Linked DNA regions of Homo sapiens: region 2 is linked to region 1. Evidence: promoter capture Hi-C in human tissues and cell types (Jung and others, 2019). All regions are on one chromosome and are shown on one strand. Each heading gives the region's core, a stretch centred on a gene start or on the middle of the fragment in contact. The rest is flanking DNA. Distances are from core to core; before and after follow the strand shown. Region 1 holds the start of MYT1L (myelin transcription factor 1 like). Region 2 overlaps MYT1L (myelin transcription factor 1 like).

Evidence for each region. Contacts are between HindIII fragments. The study calls those that stand out against the background at their distance.
Region 2: a fragment that was not itself captured here is called in contact with the fragment with the promoter of MYT1L in region 1 in 2 of the 25 tissues and cell types used here (IMR-90 fibroblasts and aorta).

Annotation. Positions count from the first base shown.
Region 1 is chr2:2,326,251-2,333,880 of GRCh38, reverse strand. MYT1L (myelin transcription factor 1 like) reads left to right here and starts at 2,606. Exons shown (of 25, transcript NM_001303052.2): 1 at 2,606-2,914. MYT1L-AS1 (MYT1L antisense RNA 1) reads right to left here. Exons shown (of 2, transcript NR_024468.1): 2 at 6,773-7,630. The HindIII fragment of the contact is 11,173 bases long and covers 1-7,630 here.
Region 2 is chr2:2,210,322-2,217,951 of GRCh38, reverse strand. The region is part of intron 2 of MYT1L (myelin transcription factor 1 like); the gene reads left to right. Among named protein-coding and RNA genes, the nearest start is that of MYT1L-AS1, 110 kb to the left of the region's middle. The HindIII fragment of the contact is 3,840 bases long and covers 818-4,657 here.

The DNA.
Region 1 (7,630 bases), core at 1,357-3,856:
GTGTCAGTATTATTTACAGATTTCTTTCTTCTTAATGTAAGGTAAGGTATGTGGGGGTGAATTTTAACTAAGAATTTATTATTAACACAACTATGATAAACTCATAGGGAATGATTACATGAATATGTGTGTATATATGTGTGTGTACATACATATATATTCATTTAATTTGAACTTTATTTTTTTAAGTACATTTGGAATTCCTTGGAAGTAATAATATAATGTATATGTAAACGCCTAAATAATACCCAGGAGGTCACGATTTGACCTAAACACTCGCATTTGCGTGGGAATTTTATTGTGCTCACTTTTTTTTTAGAGGAATGCTTTGTCCTTTACAAAATGGACAAATACTCCCACTGTACTGCAGTTCCAGTTCTATAATCATTTTGGAGGCGCTCTTTACCCCGTGGTGACCACAACACGAAGAACCGTCCTTACCCACATGCTGCTTGCCTGGGGAGCTCAGGATCAGTGTCTTACACACAGAAGGATATATGCTCCCATTTTTTTTCCGCCGACTGTAAATGACTCCTATTCTTTGCTCCACAGAACATCCGATGTGGTGCCCAATCAGCTGAAAAAGCTGCACAGACGTCATTAGTTCCGTGTGTGTGTGTGTGTGTGTGTGTGCAAGAGAGAGAGAGAAAGAGAGAGAGGAGACTGCAGCTGCCTTGCCGCGTGCCGAGTGGAGTCTCCATTAGGGCAGCGCTATTGATTTCTGATTCACACTGCAGCAACAGGGCTAGAGCTCAGAAGAAAAAAAAATCACGTCTCAGAAACAGGAATTACAAAGACAAAAATAAGTAGATAGATAGTTTTATACAAAAATCAAGCATCTGTTACCAAAGGAAAGCAAAACTGACAATTTAGCAAAATTTAAAGACTGTTTATAACATAGAATAAGATGTATAGGAGAAGTAGAGTAAAATGAGTTTAGAAAAATTATTCGTTCTAATTTTTCAACCATTTTTTTGAGAGGTGATAATGGTCTAATTTCCAGAATGCCTTGAAAAACCCTGGAATACTCGGCAGAGGTGCTGCAAAGTAAAGCTTATTTGAGGGCAATCTTGAAGCTATGCCTGAGAATTTTAAACAACAAAATATCCAAGATTTATTTTTTCAATTGTGTTCGATTATTTTATTAGCTAGTAGCTTTCTCTGTTTTAATTCTCTGTGTTGCATAATATCTAGGATACAGTAACAGGCTGGTTGCAAATGCTCGAAACAGAAATAGGTTTCTTCATAGGCTGTGTTTCAGCATGTCCAACTGTGAGCCTGTGAAGCAGAGCATCGGAGTTCTCTCGAGGTCTGTTGCTTCAGATTTGGTTAGAAATTATTGAATCTGGAGTGTAAAAATCTTGTCTGGGCCTTTTAGGCAGCTTGATTTTAAAACTAGCCCTTCTGCCCCAAGACTTATCAACCGCCCCCCCACCCTGTCCCAAAAGAAAAGCTGAAGTAAGTTCAGTGTTAAAATAATGGTGCTGTCAGGCAGGCAGTCTGCATGTGAGCAGCAGAAAATTAGAAGAATAGAACCATCCATTCTCGTTTCCCCCCGCGACATGCACGCACACATACGTGCACACACACACACACACCACACACACACACACAGACAACACCAGTCAGTGAAGGGGGAAAAGGGTGATACCTTTTTAAAAAATGAAAGGCAGTAAGCCATTATTAGCAAGAGCTATATTGAGCATGCTTGCCAGACAAGCAGCAAAGCTGAGCTCCAGTTCCGCCCAGACATGTGCCTTGCCATTTTCATTTTAATCAGCCTGCTCAGGATGGCTGCTGATTCATTTTGCAGGATGTCCCCCTGGGAGCCAAGGTGGAAGCCTGAGGCGAGCTGCTATTGCATCAATGCAGCACATCAGAGCGAGAGCGCGGAGGCAGAGGGAGGAGAGAAAGCCTTCAGCACCGCATCCCGATTTCAATATGGCTAGTTAGAAGGTCCTGCATGAAACCGAGTCTATTGCAGAAAACATAATGAAAGGAAAGGAAAAGAAAAAAGTCACATTGTCATTTCATTATCCAACTATTCTCTCCCCCAACCCCTTCTTGCCACCAACAGACACACACACGTACACATTTTACAGTGACCATGAAAGATTTCAAGCCACTCTGTGGAAGTGTGTGTGTGTGTGTGTGTGTGTGTGTGTGTGTGTACTATTTACCTGGTAACTAGCTGGGGTGGTATACCTGATTTAGCTGGAGACTTTGATTTGTAGGACTGACAACCTTATTATGCAGTGAGTTTATTATTGATATTATTCTGCTCTCGGTTGCCATGGCCACCTTGTGAGAGACATTCAATTTTCTCTCTTCCATCATCATTATCTATGAGGCCATCTGTTGTGGAAAATGAATTCAGCCTCATTTGCATGACTGATAAGCAATTTTTTTTTTTATCTATTTAACAGAAGGTCATATGCCGGGGATTTGGAGCTTGTGAAAAAAAAATGTGGAAAAAAAAAAAAGCCTAGGAGAGGATGAGTGGGAGCGTGTGCATGGGGGTGTGTGGAAGTCAAACAGATCCCTGAGGCCTGCGAGCCTATCGCGCTGCATTTGTCATTCCTGCCCGGGCGACATTTTTTTTTTCCCTAAGCTACTGCACACTAAACAGTGAGAGAGCTTTTCCCTGCAGTCTTGTTGAAGCACCCCGGGTTTTTTGCTCATTGTTGGTGGGTGCATTTTAATTTTTTCATTCCCTGGACTATGGGTTATGATATCCATACTCACTGAAGACAAAAAGCCACCTTTTCTGCGTCTTGGTGGCATGCATGTGTCTCATCATCCTTTCAAACTTGTGGTGGAACAGGGTTTTCTTCCCTGTCTGTGTATTTTGAGCCAGCACAGTTACCAAAATTGAACTTGTCTTTCGCTTGTGAGCGGTTGTGGTCATTGTGAGGTACGTGATGTTCGTTAGGTTAATTTTTCGGGGAACTTAGTGAGCAGGATGTGTTTTACCGTAGCTCAAGGGCTGAGGCTGCTATTCCATTGTCTGCTCCTTTTTAAAGTTATTTTTACAGCATGGCTGGTAGCTGAAATGTTCCTGGACTGGAGGCTTTGTAATCCACAAAAAAATCTGTCTTTAAACTAAAATGGGTATTAGGTTGCATGACTTAACTGTGATGTTGTTTATTAAGAAAAAAAGAAACAAAAACAAAACGGGGTGCATGTATGGTGTTTGGAGGATAAGAGGATACTGAAACAAAAACTTCCCAGAGACTTTACTGGATTACTTTACATTACAAATGAAGCACATCATTTTATGCAAAGGCAATTAAAATGTTAGCTATTTTGGATGAATTTACCTGATGGTAAGAAGAAAGTTGATTTATATTGTTTAAGTGGAGAAACTCAAATAAAGATTTTTAAATTTAACTTAAATGTTTGAAGTTCATAATAATGAAAGAAAATGTTATTTATAACAGAAATATGTCTTTTTGTAACACCTAAATTAATAAACTAAAAGATTAAACTCTACACTTTAGTTTTAAGATAGATCTGAATAAAGCAAAAATATATATGTAAATATTTATATGAAAGTTAGCTATATAAAATATAGAGAACAGATTTTGAATTTAGTATTAACCATGACAATTTCTTGTACCATCAAAGCTATATAAGCTAAATAATTTCTAAGTTACTTAGAGTAAAACTATTTTATATAAGAGCCTTTTTGTTCAAATGTTTATATTTTCTACTAAACAAAATTAACGTCATAGACCAAAGCATCCCAAAACCACCCTTACTGGCATATGAGGGTCTTTCTAATTGTTCATCTTCATTTAGTGTCATGTAGCTTTAAAAATAATAAAGTCATGTCTCCCATACAGATAAAAATGTAATTATTTTTAAAAGAAAAGAGTTTTATAAAATATTCCTTTTCAAAAAAAAAAACAGCATTGCATTCCTATAAGTTTTCACCTCTCAAGAACTTTGAATCCAAAGTGTTGATTGTAAGTTATAAATGCTACTAAGAGAAACATTCCAGAAAAAAAGGAAGTTTGTTTTTTCTGATTGACCTAAAAGAACATGTATGATTCTATCACCTCAAATGCAGTAAGTTAATTGCTTAAAAGTCTCCTTAAAGTTATACTTGAGTGATAAATTTTCTTTATTAACTAACATAGACCACTACTGATGTGTGTGTGTGATGGTACTTTACTTGATTGCACTTTGAAAACTCTTACCATACTATCATACACTTTTCATAAACAATAACAGTTGTTATATAATCCTTCTGCTTTTAATCAGCCATATTTCTTTATATTTTAGCTTGATTTTCAGAGAAATAAGTTTATTTTAAATATTAATTGTGCATTTAAAGAATTTAAAACAATAAAATTCTGATAGATTATGAAGATTATTTAAAGTGACATCAGCTTTCTCAGAGGACTATAAGAATCAGTAATATGAGATCTGGATCTATATTATAATATGAAGGATTATGTTGTTGTCTTTTGATCTGTACATATAGTCTTCAGATTCGTGAATCAAAATTATCAACATCTAAAAAAACCTATGAGATAGCACAGTTGATTTTTCTCTCCTCCCCACCCCCACCCACAAAAAGTTAATTACCAATCTTGGTTGGATTCTTCCTTGCCTCCCTGACATTTGACTGCTGCTAATTCACTGATTAATCTCATTAATGTGATTATAGTAGGATTTAGAGTTGGCTGCCATTGTTCTGTAGACAGTGCTATTCAGGCTGAGCACTTGCCACCTCATTCAGTTTTGCTGTGATTTTTCAAAGGCTGGTGGAGTGAGCTATTGTGAGCAGGCTTCTCTGCCTTCCCTTTCAGCACCAGGAGCTGTCCGCAGCTGATAGCGATTGCATTCAACAGTGACTGACTTCCTCCTAGTTTATTGGCAATGTGAAAATGGCTCACTTTCATCACCTTAATGATTGTGCTAGTTGAGGTAGAAGTAGGAGAAGCCTTCATGGTCACATTTGGATGTTTTGAAGATGGTGGCAGCAAAGATATCTATACTTGAACATTTTTATTTAGTAAAGACTTTCCATCTGCCATTATACACATATTTTACTCTATTTCCAAATATTCAAACATATCAATATGTTAAAAATTACTTGTATATATGTATAGTTGTGGGTTGGAAAATTGTAAACATTATTACTTTTCAACTGGAAAATTTTATCCAAATACATGTAATTATTAATAAAATTCATCTTTGAAAAGATGCACCAGGACTATCTGGTGTCACAGTAAGGTAGAAAGTATGCATGACACACAAATTTCAACTTCTCTTGAGTTAAACTTGCATCCAACAGCAGAACTTATGCCAATTTCACAAATTTGTGTTAGAAGCTGAGATCAAGGTAAAGGCCCAATGATTTGTGACCACATATGAGTGGTGTACAAAAATTATTAAAGGAATATGAGTACCTAGTCTTCTTCGGGGTTATAAAAGCTGTCAAAGCATGACCTTAGGACTATGTGGATAGTTTCAGAGAATGAGACTTCTTTAATATGCTGTTTTCACTGTCCCTGTTATGTTTTTCACCTAATTTATTTATTTATTTTTTACTCTCTTGAAAATGTTTCTATTTTGTACCTTACTCTTGAATATACCCAATTATTTCACTGTCTGATGTTTTCTGTCTGCTTTCTGTGTCAATGTTTAATAGATTAGGGAAAAGAAATAAGTGATTATGCAATTTCAAAGATTTGTAAAGTTTTTCTATTTGTTACAATTATACTTAAAATTAAAAAATTGAGTTAATAATCTGATTATTTGTTCAGCTGCTTTTATAAATACTTTACATTTATAATTTTTAAAAGCCAATTACTTCTCTGTGAAAAATTAATTTTGTCAAGTAAATAATGTTTTCAAAGTCACATGCATAAACTAGATTTCCAACTCTACCTGTAAGCCAATTTAATTTGAGGGAGAGACATTATTTTAGAAATACATAATATACAATCTGAAAGACTTTGTTTACTTGTTATATATTTTAGTGGATACATTTTAACTTCAAACAACTTAAAGGTTTATTTACCCTTAAATATTTTATATTAAAAAAAACTCCTCTGTGGAATTAGAGGGACTAGTCAGATGCTCTTTGATAATGACCACTCTGCTTTGCACTTACAGTTTGGTTTGGCTGGGTGTCCCTTTTAGACCAGGGCTATAATTTTCAATCAATAACCAGTGTTTCCAATGCATGTTGTCCTTTGCCAGGAAGTCTACCTTGATGCAAAGTCTCACCAGAACTCTGTTCAGGAGGCAAATGAATGGTAGACTCAGAAAGAGAGATCTACAGTTTTGGTAAATTTTTATAATCTAATTACTCCATAGCGTAATTTGAGCGCAATGATGTTATGCATTTTCCTATTTCAAGTTTTTAAGAGTTCTTTTTTTGAATATCTTCTTTTTTATTTGAAAAGTTGTGTAGTATTCTTTAGAAAGGAGTAACTGAGGATAAACTTGAACAAAAACTTGCAAATAACATATTTTTCACCAAGCTAAGTTTCATCATACTGTATTCTGTACCACAACACAACACCTGACATTGATCTGCATTTCTTCCAAACAAAACTGAAGACAAAAGATACCACAAACTTGAAGAAGTAAATAGATGTAGGTTTGTGTTTGTGTGTGTGTGGTTGGGGGCAGTGTCATATCTACATATCATGGTTGCTGGTATGAAAAAGATATTTTAAATTGACATACCACCCCAATATTTAAAATATTGCCTATAGTGACCATAACTCATATGAAATAATACAAATATTCTACTTTTATAGTATTTTATTGCATGATTTTTTCTGATATTAGATTATTTAAAGGCAACAGCTATCCATTTTTTCCATCAGTGGGCTATTTCAATGCAATGTGGTTCTGTTTGTAATATCTTTGTGTCTTGTCTCTTCTCTCTCTTTCTCTCCACTTTCCTTTCTCTCTCTTCTGCCCCCTCTCTCTTTAACTTGGTCCCTGTTTGTCTGTTTTGCCACCCTCTCTTCTCTCTGTGTTTCTTTCACACCTGCATTGTTCAAGCATACACAGTGATTTTTCTATGCATGTTTCTACAATGGAAGTGTTTTTGGCTTTGACATCATAATGAGTCCTCAGGGTATCTGTAGAAGTAATCAGAGATGGCAGAGAAAATGTAAGCCAGGTGTTATAAAACTAGAAAGAATGCATGAATGCTTATTTATTAGATAGAGAAAGAGTGATAAGCATTGCTGTATTAGGCTGTTCTGCTAGGAAAATTTTCCTACCATGTACCTCTTTTAAAATAATCTCTGCTCCCCACGTGGTGATTATTGGAAAAGTTGGCGGGGGGGAATATTTTAGTCTTACTGTAAGGAGTATTGTGTTGTGAGAAGATGGAATGGTACAGGACATTCTCTTAAAGCTTTCCTTGCTTTCAGACTGCAGTGGTGTCTAGCAGGGCTCGATGGGAAGGGAATTGCAGCCTCTATAGTAACCAGTAAGTCTGGTCCCAACACATCAGGGAAGAGCTCGGTCTTCAGAGGAATTACCTCTGAGAGCTGGAAGAGGGTGTTCCTGGTAACTTGGGGCTTCTCTGTCAGTCTCCCCACGGAAACCACAGTCAGAGCTGTGCTCTGTGGAAAGCCTGCAGTGGCTGCTC
Region 2 (7,630 bases), core at 1,488-3,987, 120 kb after region 1:
TCCTATCCATACATCTTCTTCAATAAAAGGTCTGTTCAGATCTTTTGCTCATTTTAAAAAATGTGGTGCTGATCTTGTTATCATTAAGTTTCGAGAGCTCTTTTTGTATTCTAGATTCAAGCTCTTTATGTGATTTACAAATCAGAAATGGATGTTGGATAGTGTTAAATGATTTTTCAGAGTCTATTAATGTGGATTTTCTTTCTTTCTTTCTTTTCTTTTTCCTTCTTTCTTTTTTTTTTTTTGTTGTTGTTGTTGTTGTTGTTGTTGTTGTTGTTGTTGAGATGGAGTTTTGTTCTGTCCCCCAGGCTGGAGTGCAATGGTGTGATCTCAGCTCACTCCCAAGTTCAAGCAATTCTCCTGCCTTCAGCCTCTCAAGTAGCTGGGATTATGGGTGGCTGCCAGCATGCCTGGCTAATTTTTGTATTTTTAGTAGAGATGGGGTTTCACCATGTTGGCCAGGCTGGCCTTCAATTTCTGACCTCAAGTGATCTGTCTGCCTCTGCCTCCCAAAGTGCTGGGATTACAGGCATGAGCCACCGTGCCTGGCTGGATTTTCTTTCTTTTTAATTTATTTGTCACAAGTTACATTGGTTGACTTTCAAATTCTAAATTAACCTTGATTAAGCTCCACTGGGTCATGATGCACTGTACTTCTTATACGCTGTTGGATTCACTGTTAAAATTTTGTTTAGAATTTTTTCATCTATGTTCATTATGGATATTTGTCTGTGACTTTCTTATCTTGTGGTATCTTTGATTTAGTTATCTGAGAAATGGTGGCACCATAGAATGAGTTGACAAGTATTTCTTTCTTTTAAATTTTCTGAAAGAATTTGTATTATTCATTTATTGAATGTTTGATGCAATTCATACCTGAAGTATCGAGACCTGAAGTTTTGTTTGTGGAAAAGTTGTTAACTACAATTTGCATTTCTTTGGTAGATAGAAGCCTTTCCAAGATACCTATTTCTTATTGAGTGAGCTTGGTACTTTGTGTCTTTCAAATCAAATTTTTCTATTTCCCCTAAGTTATTGAATTTATTCATTAAAGTGGCTCATAATTTTTGTTCATTATCTTTTTAGTAAGTGTAGGCTCACTATTGACATTTTCTCTCTTACTCCTGACATTGGTAATTGTGTTCTCTCTCTCTCTCTCTCTTTCTCTCTCCTGACCAGCCTGACCAGGGATTTCCCACTCTGATTGACCTTCTTAAAGAACAAACATATGACTTTGTTGATTTTTCTCTATTGTTTTCTGTTTTTTATTTCACAGATTTTTGTGCTGATCTTTATAATTTATTTTCTTCTATTTACTTTGGGTTTAATTTGCTTTTCTCTTTCTAGTTGCTTAAGGCGGAAGCTGAAGTCATTGATACTTGTTCTTTTCTGATATACGCATTTAATGTTGCAAATTAAATGCCCAGAACAATGCTTCACCAACCTCCCGCAAATTGATACCTGGTGGAACTTCTTTTTCATTTTCATCCAGTTGAAAATACTTTCAAATTTCTCTTCATATTCCTCCTTTGACCCATGGGTTATTTAGAAATGTGTTATTTAATTTCCAAATATTTGGGGGTAATTTTCTAAAAACTTTCATTATTATCTTCTTATCTAACTCCACTGTGGTCGAAACATGTACTTGTATGAGTTAAATCCTTTTAAATTTATTGAGACTTGTGTTACACCCCAGAAGATAATCTACCTTGGTGTATTAGGCTGTTCTTGCATTCTATAAAGAAATACCTGAGACTGGGTAATTTATAAAGAAAAGAGGTTTAATTGGCTCACAGTTCTGCAGGCTGTACAGGAATCATGGCACCAGCATCTGCTTCTGGGGAGGTCTCAGGAAGCTTAAATGATAGGAGGTGGAACGTGGAACTGAGAGAGAGAGAGAGAGAGAGACAGACAGACAGACACAAAAGAGAGAGAGAAAGAGGAGAGAAGGTTGGGGGAGAGGGTGCCACACATTTTTAAATGACCAGATCTCAGGAGAATTCACTAACATGAAGACAGTACCGTGCCATGAGGGATCCACCCCTATGACCCGAACACCTTCCACCAGGTTCCACCTCCAACACTGGGGAATGCAATTCAACATGAGATTTGGGGAGGGACCACCTCCAACACTGGGGGATGCAATTCAACGTGAGATTTGGGCAGGGACAAATATCCAAACTATATCACTTGGTAAATGTTCACTGTGGACTTGAAAATAATATGAATTATCTTGTTGTTGGAGGCAGTGTTTTGTAAACATCAGTTAGGTTTAGTTGGTTGATAGTGTTCAAACCTCTTATATCCTTACTGATTTCCTGTCTACTTGTTCTATCAATTATCAGGATAGGAGGGTTAAAATCTCTTGACTATAATTGTAGATTTGTCTATTTATCCTTGTAGTGCTTTCAGTTTTTGCTTCATGTCCTTTAAACTCAGTTATTACATGCATATTTAAGATTGTCATTTTCTTTTGATTAATTTATTGTTTTAAATGACCTTCTTTACCCTGGTAGTATGCTTTGCTTTGAAAGCTTCCTTGTCTGTTATTAACAGAGCCACTCTAGCTTTCTTTTGACTAGTGCAAGCATGATGTATCTTTTTTCATCTTTTTATGTTTAACCTACTTTTGTCTTTAAATATGTGTTTCTGTAGGCGATAGAGTTAGATCTTACATTGTATCTAATTCAACAACTTCTGCATTTTTATTACTGTGTTTAGATAACTTACATGTAATGTATGAATATAGTTAATTCTAAGTCGACCATCTTTCTATATTTATCCCATCTGTTCTTTATTTCCTTTTTCTTGTTTTTGCCTTGCTTTAGATTATTTGTCTATGATTCTGTTATTTCTTTCATAGGTTTATTATGCATAATGCTTATAATTGCTATTATCTTAGTCATCGCTTTGGATGTGTAAAATACATCTTTAATTTTTTACCATTAAGTTGTATTATACCACTTCACATGTAGTATAAGAATCTTACAATGTTGTTCTTCCATTTTTTCCCTCTTAGCATTTGTGCTATTATCATACATTTTATTTTTATATATGTTACAAATGACACACTACATTATTATTTTTAAACTATTGCTTAATTTTAAAGAGATTTAGCTACTAAGAAAAGTATATGATGCATTTATCCATACAGTTACTACCTCTGATATTCTTTGTTACCGTGTGACTATCCCAATTCGGTCCTATGTTCCTTCTGTGTGGAGACTTCATTTCATATTTCTGTAAGGCCCAGTCTGCTGGTGACACATATTCTTTCAGCTTCTCTATATCTGAAGAAGTCTTTGTCTTACTTCGCTTTTGAATGACATTTTTGTGGACAAAGAACTTTAGGGTAAGGGGATTTCTTTTCCTCTTAAGTACTTTAAAGATGGTGTTCTATCTTTCTATTTGCATTTCTTTTTCTGATGATATGTGTTATATTTATTATCTTTGATCCTTCACACCTTTTTTTCCCTATTATCTGCCTTTAAGCTTTCCTGTTTGTCGCTGGTTTCGAGAAATTTGATTATTTTGAGCTGTATGTAATTTTCTATGTGTTCTTGTGTTTGGGTTTTGTTCATTATTTTAGATCCGTGGGTTTGATGTTTTCATTAAATCTGGAGATTGTTCTGCCAGCAACTTCAAACATAGATAGATAGATAGATAGATAGATAGATAGATAGATAGATAGATAATTTGTCTCATGTTTCTTTTTTTTTTAGGTTATTCTGATTACATGTATATGAGACCACTAGAAGTTGTCCCATGACTCACTGATATTTTGTTCATTTATAATTCTTTTTTTCTCTCTGTTTCATTTAGATAATTTCAATTGTTATGTCTTCAAATTCACTCGTATTTCTTTCTGCAAGGTCTAATATGTCATTAATCATGTACAGTGCATTTTCATCTCAGATATTAGAGCTTTCATTTGTTAGAATTTGATTTAATTTTTTAAAATATCTCCTGTCTTCACTTAACTCTTTGAATATATAAAATACAATTATAATAATTATTTGTATTGTCCTTATAATTCTAACAGTGGTGTCAGTTCTGCAATGGTTAGATTGATTGATTTTTCTCCTCACTGTGGATTTTATTTTTCTGCTTCTTTTCATGCCTGGAAAATTTTAATGTAATCCCAGACATTGTAAATTTTACCTTCTGGGTGCTGGATATGTTTGCATTTCTAGAAATATTTTTGAGCTTTCCTCTTGGAAGCAGTTAAGTTACTTGGAAATAGTATGATATGGTCTAGCTTTTTACATTTGCTAGGCAGTAGCTGAGTAATATTCAGCCTATTACTAATTATTCTCTGCTATTAAGTTGAGGCCTTCTGAGTGCTCTGCTGAAGGCACTGTGAATATAAGGTTTAGCACCTGGCTGACGAGAACAGGCTTCATCCCCTGCCCTGGGTCAGCACTGCACACTCCTCCTGCAAGGATTTTCAGGTGGTTTTTCGGCTGGCCTCAGGCAGTCTCCTCATAGACTTGTGCTGGTCAATATTATGTTGGATACTGTTGGGGGACCCTCTGTGCACCCCCAGGATTATCTCTCTGCAGCTCCCTTCTCTGCAGTGCTCTGTCCTGAAGCCTCTAGCTATATTGGTCTCCCTGGACACTAAGCTCTGTCTCCTCAACTCACTGAGTTCACTGGCTCTCCCTGGGTTTCCCCTCCTGGCAACACATTCCAGAAACTCAAGGCAATAAACCAGGACAAGCATTTTGTTTTCTATCTCTCAGGGATCACTCTCCATTATCTTGTGTCTGGTGTCTTGAAACAATTGTTTTGTATTTGTCCGTTTGCATTTTTGCTTGGTTGGTTGTTCTGGTGAGAAGCTAAGTTTAGTAGCTGTCCCTGCATCCTGGTGGGATGCAGAAGTCCTATTTTCGTTAGTTCCTCTGTTTCAGTTCTTCCATCCCAAAGTCTCTGGTTGATGAGAATAAAGTCCACTCTGTGCCTCTCCCCTCTACTTATTTGCCTTCTTCCTCTCTTCCCCTCATGAAAGACAGATGGCCAGCTTGCTGTGGCCCTCAGAGAAGATGGACACTGGGGACCAGGCCTTGGGCACAGGGCACTCCGTTGCTGTGTCAAGGTTGAGAATTGAGCTAGGTGGAATGACAAACTTGGGAGAATAAAGTAACACCAGTTCTTTGGTGGCCTAATTCAAGATATTTGTTTTAAAATGTGTTGTTCTGTGCATGACAATGACTACAACCATGAGAACAAACTACACGATACTAGAGAAATGTTAACAATTAAGGCTAATGATAGATGATGGGGAAGTAAAAAGTGAGGAGGAAACAGATAAACATCTAATTTAGTCATGAAACAATATTACTAATTAGTACTAATCCCGTCTATACAACTTAAATACCATTTATACTTACTATACAGCAGAGCATTTATGGGAATTAAAATCAAAATGTGTTTGTATGTGTACTAAATTAACAAAAATATGTATTATTAGAGTAATAAATTATGAATATTGTGTTACATATATAACATTTGTTGTTATAAAATAGTATGTATTTGTTAATTTAGTTATTCATGCTTTTTATTAACAAATTTAAAAGCACTGGGATTTACAAATTATGTCTGAGCCTCAGCTAGGCACCACCCAATCTTCCTAAAATTTCGCCTGCTCCTTTATTATCGGGTAACTCATCCTGGGGGAGTTTGAATATCGATGTGGGACTCTAAGATATTGGTGTTCAAAGTTAAATGCCCATATTTCAGGGGATTCAAAGGTATCAGGTTATAAGAAAAATACAAATCTATTTGTATTAAAGTTAATAAATGTGTTGTTTCCAAGTATAAAGCTTATATACGCATATAGACACCGCCATTTTCCCAGCATCAGTCATGTGTCTAGATGGGGACTTGCAGACCATGGACAGTCTGAAATGCAGAGGCTTGACATTGGAACCCTGACTCTTCCACTGGCATTTGGCATTCTGCTCTGTATTGCAGTTTATGAGGGCCTCAGTGAATAGATTTATGAGAGTTATATTATAATATTTTATAATACTTTGTAATGAAATGGGATGACTGTGAAAATCATTTGTACCACAAAGAGTTCTGCTTGTTATAATGTTCTAGAAGCATTGTCAGTTTTTTTTTTGTTTGGTTTTTTTTTTTTTTTTTTGACATGGAGTCTCTCTCTGTCCCCAGGCTGGAGTGCAATGGTGCGATTTTGGCTCACTGCAACCTCTGCCTTCTGGGTTCAAGCGATTCTCCTGCCTCAGCCTCCTGAGTAGCTGGGACTAGAGGCGCCCGCCACCACGCCCAGCTAATTTTTGTATTTTTAGTAGAGACAGGTTTCACCATGTTGGCTAGGCTGTTCTCGAACTCCTGACCTCATGATCTGCCCGCCTCGGCCTCCTAAAGTGCAGGGATTACAGGCATGAGCCACTGCACCTGGCCAGAGTTGTCAGTCTTAAAGATGAGTTATTTTTCTCTTGTAATAAAGACATGTGCTTCAAATTTGCTATTAGTGGATGACAGTGGCTAAAGGAGTACTAACAGAATTTTTTTAAAAAAAACGATACATGAAGATCATGCTTCAAAGCAAAATTAATGTTAAAACAATTAGTAAGAAAGAATTACTTTAAAAAGAACCTTGTCCTATGGAAAGAACATTTTGAAAATGGATGTTTAAAAACGTGGTCATTGTTATGTGATTTTCAAAATTTTGGCTATAAGGGATGTTTAAACTCTTAAAAACTTTCAGATTTAAAAACTTTCAAATTTCTAATCAAACATGCATAAGCAATTATACCTATTTGCAGATGATATGATTTTATATTTGGAAAAATCTAAAGACTTCACCAAAAAACTATTAGAACTGATAAATTCAGTAAAATTGTGGGATACAAAATCAAAATACAAATCAGTAGCATTTCCATATGTCAACACTGAACAATGTGAAAAAGAAATCAAAAGAGCAATCCTATTTATAATAGCCACACATAAAATTAAATACATAGGAAGTAACTTAACCAAAGAAGTAAAATATCTTTACAACAAAAACTATAAAACACTGATTTTAAAAAAAATTGAAGAAACAAAAAAATGGAAAGGTATTCCATGTTCATGGATTGGAAGAATCAATATTGTTAAAACGTCCATACTACCCAAAGAAATCTACAGATTTAATGCAATTCCTATCAAGATACCAATGGCATTTTTCACATAAATAGAAAAAATATCCTAAAATTAATATGTAACCACAAAAGACCTAGAATAGCCTAAATTTTGTGAAGCAAAAAGAACAAAACTGGAGGAATCACATTACCTGACTTCAGAGTATACTACAGAACTATACAGAATCAAAACAGCATGGAACTGGCATAAAAACAGACACATGGATGCATGGAACAGAATAAAGAATCCAGAAGCAAATCCTTATACCTACAGTGAACTCATTTTTGACAAAGGAGCCAAGGATAGACACTGGGAAAAGACAGTCTCTTCAACAAATGGTGCTGGGAAAACTGGACAAACTTGACCCTTATCTCTTGCTTTATACAAAAATCAAATTAAAGTGAATTAAAAACTTAAATTTAAACATCTCAAACTATGAAATAGCTACAAGAAAGCATTGGGGAAATGCTCTAGGATATTGGTC